Regions from separate parts of the Homo sapiens genome. Here region 1 is linked to region 2. Evidence: promoter capture Hi-C in human tissues and cell types (Jung and others, 2019). All regions are on one chromosome and are shown on one strand. Each heading gives the region's core, a stretch centred on a gene start or on the middle of the fragment in contact. The rest is flanking DNA. Distances are from core to core; before and after follow the strand shown. Region 1 overlaps LOC105370673 (a long non-coding RNA gene). Region 2 holds the start of HHIPL1 (HHIP like 1).

What was found. Contacts are between HindIII fragments. The study calls those that stand out against the background at their distance.
Region 1: a fragment that was not itself captured here is called in contact with the fragment with the promoter of HHIPL1 in region 2 in 1 of the 25 tissues and cell types used here (pancreas).

The regions. Positions count from the first base shown.
Region 1 is chr14:101,521,202-101,524,553 of GRCh38, reverse strand. LOC105370673 (a long non-coding RNA gene) reads left to right here. Exons shown (of 7, transcript XR_944222.2): 6 at 1,150-1,335; 7 at 1,745-2,851. Among named protein-coding and RNA genes, the nearest start is that of DIO3OS, 38 kb to the left of the region's middle. RefSeq lists enhancers at 1,222-1,752, 1,753-2,284. The HindIII fragment of the contact is 3,867 bases long and covers 1-3,248 here.
Region 2 is chr14:99,643,178-99,646,557 of GRCh38, reverse strand. HHIPL1 (HHIP like 1) reads right to left here and starts at 1,429. Exons shown (of 9, transcript NM_001127258.3): 1 at 1,096-1,429. The coding sequence starts at 1,350. The HindIII fragment of the contact is 28,378 bases long and covers 1-3,380 here.

The DNA.
Region 1 (3,352 bases), core at 66-2,565, 1.9 Mb before region 2:
AAAAAAAAAAAAATTAATGGCAAAAACCGCAATGATTTTTGCACCGACCTAAATACAACACTGTGTGTTTGTTGATCAGCTGAAGGAGAGCAGGACTGTTAGAAGAGGCACAACAGGGATCCCTAACTCACACAGGAGAGGAAATCTTAGGGGGATTTCCAGACGAGATGAAATCTGAGTTCATACTTAAGGAGGTGTTAGCATTAAACACACTCAGAAATAAGGAATCATCAGAGACAACAATTTGGCAAGCTTTTCTGAGGGTGCATGCAGGGCCTGGGTCTTGTGGCTGGGTCATGGGGCTCTGGGTCTGATGGGGAGACAGGCATGGATGCAGTGTAGCCTGGGGCTCCTTGCCAGCAGGAGTCAGAAGTCACCATTCACCGAGACTTCCCTTGGGAAGGCCAGAGATGGTAGAGAGGTTTTATCTTTTTTTTTTTTTTTTTTTTTTTTGAGACAGTCTTGCTCTGTTGCCCAGGCTGGCGTGCAGTGGCACGATCTCAGTTCACTGCAACCTCCACCTCCCAGGTTCAAGTGATTCTCCTGTCTCAGCCTCCTGAGTAGCTGGGATTACAGGCATGCACCACCACGCCTGGCTAATTTTTGTATTTTTAGTAGAGATGGGGTTTCACCATGTTGGCCAGCTGAGAGGTTTTATCTTATGTGTCATTTTTGATCCAATGGTTGCCCTGTACACTATGTGGAGAAGGATTCTGTTGTTTAATATGAGCTTAGTGAGAAAGATTGATTGGTGATTGATTGATGATGTCTGCCATGAGTACGGAGGGTACAAGCTAGGGCATGCATGCTGTAGGTTTAGTATTCCGGTTTCAAACTGTAGAGTGCAGAGTCTCAGGAAAAGATATTGGACATGACTGGGCTGAAACATCTTGTATTATGGAAGGGGAAACTGAGGCTCAGGGATGAGTAGGGACATCACAAGTCAACGGTAGAACAGGGCTCTCTTTCTTGCTGGCTGGGAGGCTGCCCCCGTCAGCAGAGGGATCTCAGGTGGGTCTGGAAGAGGTGGTTTTGGGAGTTCCAGCCCCCCCACTTGCAGCTGCATGAATGGGGCAAGTCATGTCAACTCTCCAACCTCATTTGTACAATGGGGTTGATTAGGGCTAAAAGAGACCCTTCGTTCTATAGGTGTTTGTGGAGTGTTTGTTACTGGGCACACTTGTTGCTGGGATACACAGCTGAGCAAAACACAACCGGATCCTCCTGCACATTGCTTACAGGGAGACAAACTTTGCTCATATAATCACTCCTGAACAAGCAGAATCCAGTACACAGGTGGGCCCTGTGGAAGCACCGTCAAGGCCTTGCTGCATGGTAAGCATTAAAATACAGCCGCCACCGTGGCAGGATTCTTACTGTGGGGGTGTGCTGAGCCAGGGGTGAGGGCACTGGATGCAGCCCATCCCCACATTCCTGTGGGCCCCAGGGGGGCTACCTCCTCCTGGGGGAGGTGCCTTTCTCTAAGTATCACAGAGGCATCACAGGGGCTGGTGACTGCCTTAGTCGCTAACTGTGTGGTTGTTGCCTGTGAGATCCTGCCCCTCAGACAAGCTGAGCAAGATGGCCAGGTCAGATGGCTGCAGCGTCTATCTGGGAGAACATGTGGGGACCAGTTCTGTGGCGAGGGCCCTGGGTGGCCTTGGGGAAATGCTTTGTCTCTCTGGGCTTCCGTGTGCCCAAGTACAAGGGCACTGAGGCCTGACATGCACATATCTGGTGGCAGCCCTGTTAGGAGGAAGGCCCTGCCACCCCACACTGCCCCAAAGGAACACTTCCGGGATAGTGCAAGCATTCCTGGGATCTTCCTGGGCCCACGGCGCTGGGACCCTGCCCCAGACTCCACTGCTCACATTGTCACGAGCCGCAGCCCTCTCTGTGTGCCCACAACACCGGTTCTCAACTGGGCACAGCTCCTTCTCCTGGCTTTGCCTGGGCTGTGCTTTACACCTGAAGTGGAACCCCTGCCCTTCCATCCTGCTCTCCTTCGAGGCCTGCAGATGCCATGTCCTCCACACCTGAGGATTCTGGAGGCCGGCAGGGCTTCTGGACAAATCTGAGCACTTGCACTCTGGAGGCCCTGCCACAGTGGCTACTGCCCACCACGGACGATTCTGTAGACCCTGCTTAGAAGAGACTGGCCATCCAGAACAGCTCTGCTCCCACCCGGAGACTCAAGACTCCGCTCAGGAGTTCAGACTGTCTGGCAGCAGCTGTGGACTGCAGGGGTGATGGCCGTGGCTGGCACCTGAGGCTGCAGCTCTCAAGACCTTGGTCCGAAGGATGGGGGCTTCCACTCCCAACTGTGAGCTCACTTGCTGGGAAACTTGCCACACCCAGTGTCTGGACATCAGATGAACTTGCAGCCTCTTCCTTCCTTTCCCTTTCCGGTATTTTATTGGTGGAGGGCCATGGGCATCAGACATGTGGGTTTTGGGGAGGGAGGTAACGGCAGAGTGGGGTTGGTGAGTATCAGCCCCTCCTGCGAGCTGTGGGTGCTGCTGTGTGTTAGACATCCCTGCTAGCTCCCTGTCCCACATGAGCCCCCGGGTCCTCACTGGGCACTGGCCTCATTCTCTTCTGGGATCTCCCAGGCCCTGCACACAGTAAGTGGGCAGCACACAGTCACGATGGCCACTTTTAACCCCACCGCCTTGATCAAGACCTGGAGAGCTGGGGCATCAGAGCGGGGGTCGACAGACTCGGAGGCCAACTGGCCTGGGGTTGAGCTATTGTTGCCGACATGGAACCCGATCCAGTGATTAATGGGTCCAGGAAATGATCCCTAGCTCAGCTGGCCAGTCCGGGCAGCCTGGCAGCACGGGCCCACGCGGTTCAGGGGATGGCCAGGAAGGCCTGCCGTGGGAGGGCTGGCGGGGGTGGCTGGCTGAGCTGTGGCTACAATGCTGGGGCCATGGGGGTCTGGGGGGGTATGGACCAAGGGCCCCTTTCCAGGAATGCAATGCCCGGCTCCCTCCCTTCTCCCGTGTCTCCTAACAGGGCCCCCCGCCCCTCTCAGTTCCTCCAGGCTTCCTGCCCACAGCTCTGGACCGCTGGTGCCAATGTGGAGGCAGACAGCTGGCTCCCTAGCCATCCCTGAAACCTGTCCGAGCCCCTCCCCCACCTCCTGATTCTAGATGTCCTCATCCCCACCCCCACGCTCAAAGGCTCCGGGAGTCTCCCGGGGCACCCCTTTGCACACTGTGGAGTCCTGTGGCCACCCTAGTCGCACGCTGTCCATCCCTGGGGGTAGAACTTGAACATCCAGGGTGAGGGGTCCAGGTTCCAGGCCCCGGGGCCAGGCCAGGCAGCCAGGAAGGTGCCCTGAGCTTCG
Region 2 (3,380 bases), core at 180-2,679:
AGTGATCTGCCCACCTTGGCCTCCCAAAGTGCTGGGATTACAGGCATAAGCCACCATACTCAGCTTCATTTTAAAGATATTGTGAGGTGCAGCAGTGACCTGCCCAGGTCACGAAGCTGGGGAAGTGACAGAGCCAGGATCAAACTCCAACTCCAAGTCAGCCTTCTTGCCCTTCCCCACACCACCTGCCCCTGCTGGCCGAAGGCTGGGACACGGCCCTGGCCCCTGGGGCCTCTCCACCCCAGGCCTCTCACTGCCCAGATGCTGAGGCAGGAATGCCTTGGGGCTGCCCGTCCTGCTCCATTTCTGCATTCAGCCAGGCAACATTTGCCCACTTGGGTGTGGTCAGGCCCTGGGGCCTCAGACTCCCACAAGAGGAAAACAAATAGCGGTGGCACCACCAGGTGTGCACAGAAGCAGGGGCTCCACCCTCAGAGGGAAGATGGGGGGCCCAGGGGCTTCAACAAAGAGCTGTCGCTCAGTCTTGAGAGAGCTTCTGCAGGCCAGGGCGCCATCCCCAGGAGAGGGCACAGCACCCACAGAGGTGGTGGCGGAAGTGGCAAGGGCATCAGGATGGGGGTGAGACGCTCGTGGGGGACAGTGGCCCCAACCCCCTCAACAAACCCGGGCCACACGTTGACCACGCCCACGCCAGGGCCCCCTGCTTTCACTGCCCCGGGGACAACACAAAGGAGCACTGACCGGGACAGATGCCTCTCCACCTTGGTACCCCGACAAGGGTGCAGCTGCTCGGGGTGGGACGCTGAGGGGTCGACTCCAGGGGACTGGGGCAGAAGAGCCCCCAACCTCTGAGGAAATGATGACATCATCTGTCCGTCCGTCCGTCCTTCCTGCTTCAGGAGGGGAAACTGAGGCCCCGAGAAGGCCCAAGTCACAAAACTAATGAATGGCAAAGCCAAGAGTCGTCCTGGGATGCGCGGTCTCCCCGCCCCGTGCCAAATGACTCCCTGTTGGGGCTTAGAGTTCCCGAGTCCGCCGCCCACTCTTGGCCCTCGCCCCCGCGGGGTTCCGATCTCTGCTCCAGGACTCGGCCTCCCGCGCCCCGCCCCGCCCGGTGGCCGCGCGCCCGCTCACCTGGCACAGCAGGTCCCTCGCGTAGCCGGCGCACGCGGCCCACTCGGCGGCGTCCACGCGGCTCGCCAGGGCCCAGAAGCGGCGGGTCAGCTCGGCGTCGCGCCCCTCATCGCAGCAGCCGAAGTCCGAGTACTGCGCGCAGAGGCGCAGCGGCTGCGTCGGCCGGAAGGGCGGCCTGAAGTCCAGGCACTGCGGATGCGCGGCGGCCCCGAGCACCCAAAGCGCCAGCAGCGCCCCGGCCCTGGCCCGGGCCATCGCTACGCCCCGCGGGGGAAGAGGCGGAGGGACGGCAGCCCCGGTCCCCTCCCGGGGCGCTCGCGGCGGCAGGGAAGGGGCGGGCGCTCCCCTTCCCTACACGCAGGGCCTCGAGTTTGGGGACCTCCCCTTCTAGGAGGTCACCTCTGGTCGGGGACACTCGGCGGGACTGAAGGAAGAGGGACGCGGCGCAGAATGCGGCACGACCTCTTTTAACCGCTTTCCAAATTCGATGGGAGTGGCCCGGTCTGTTTAAAGCCCCGGTGTGTTTTCCCGGTTCCGCCTGGGGCCCTGCTTCCTCCCCACAGGGCGCTCTTTAGCCAGGGAGGCGCAGGGCCAGAGGCCTGGACTCCTGGGCTTCGGTTCCACCTCCCACTGGGCTAGGGAAACGGATGCCCGCAGCCCGTCCCCGAAAGCTCCCACGTAACATTTTAAAAATGGGGGTGCGAGGGAAAGAACAGGGGGTGTTGCCCCAGGACTCTCAGGGAGAAGTGAAACCTGGCGTAGGGGTGGGGAGGGAGGACGGAGCAGTCTCCGCAGTCCACCCTTTGCCCTTACTGTGGGCTTCTTCCCAGTCTCTGCTCCTGGGGCAGCGGATTCTCCTGCAGCCCAGGACCCACTGGGGCTCCCCACTTCCACTCTCGCATAGGGAGCACTGATGAATCTACCTCCTGGGATGGGCATCCAGCCCTTTGTTCCGCTGCCCCCGCTGGAGATTCAGACCCAACCCCGCCCCACCCCCCCACACACATACAGACGCACACACGCTGTCTTACCTACCCCAGAATCTCATGGCACCAAAACCACCCACACAGACAAACACACACACACTGTCTCACCTACCCTAGAATCTCACAGCACCAAAACCACCCAGGCATTTTTCTCAAGTGGACCTCAGCGTTTGCTTCTCCCTGGAGTGTCCTTCCCCATCTTCTCTGTCCAGTGAGCTCCTACTCCATCTTCATGGCCCCAACGCACACATCCGTCCTCTGCAGGTCTCTTTGGACTGTCCTGGGGGATCATGTTTCTGTCTTTGGGCCCATGCTCCTGGCAGAGCTGGGGGTGGATGAGATGCGGCAGGGCTGGAGCACTCAGAGGTCTGTGGCTCTGGCCTGAACAGGTGCAGTGTAAGAGTCAGGGTCTCCGCACAGCCAAACATCTCTGAGTATTTGAAACACGGGGAATTTAACGCAGGGACTTGAAGCCAAAGAGGCTAAGAAGCCATACAGGGCTCAGTGAAGTAACCTTGAGATCAGCAACAGTAGGAACAGTCCCCAGGTCCTTGATGCAGGAAGAGCAGATGTTACTGGAGCCAAGGAGCTATGGTCACCTTGTCAAAGCTGGACCCTCACAAGGCCTGTCTGGCCACAGCTGGAGATAGCCACTGTCAGAGATTCTGCACAGACAGAGGAGGAGAAATACCCCGGCTTCTCCCTGCCACTTCCCCTCCAACTCCCACCTGTGGCTTTCATTGGCTGAACCTAGCAGAGGGCTGCTAGGGTGGGAAATGCGGCCTGCAACGGCTTCCTGCACAGACAGCTGGGAATAGGCAGAGCCAGGATGGAATCGGAGGGCACGATGGCGCCTACTTCCCAGCTGGGACTCAGAACTGGGTGATAGTCACACATCAACACAGGGCTCCAGATGAGTGTACAGAGGTGGAAGTGACACAGAGCCTGGGCCACAGCCATGAGGTTTGGGCTCCTACAGCCACAGAAAATGTCAAACACAGCCCAGCCCCAGCCAGAGTAACATAAATCCTCACCCTAATACCTATTTACCTCGGTTTCTGTTATCTAGTACATCCTGATTGGCTTTCCAGAAAAACAACAAGGCATGAAAAAAAGATAAGAAAAGTCACAGTCAGGAGCCGGGCACAGTGGCTCACGCCTGTAATCCCAGAACTTTGGGAGGCTGAGGCGGGCGGATCACCCGAGGTCAGGAGTTCGAAACCAGCCTGGTCAACATGGTGAAATCTCGTCTCTACTAAAAATACAAAAATTAGCCAGGCGTGGTGGCACGCGCCTATA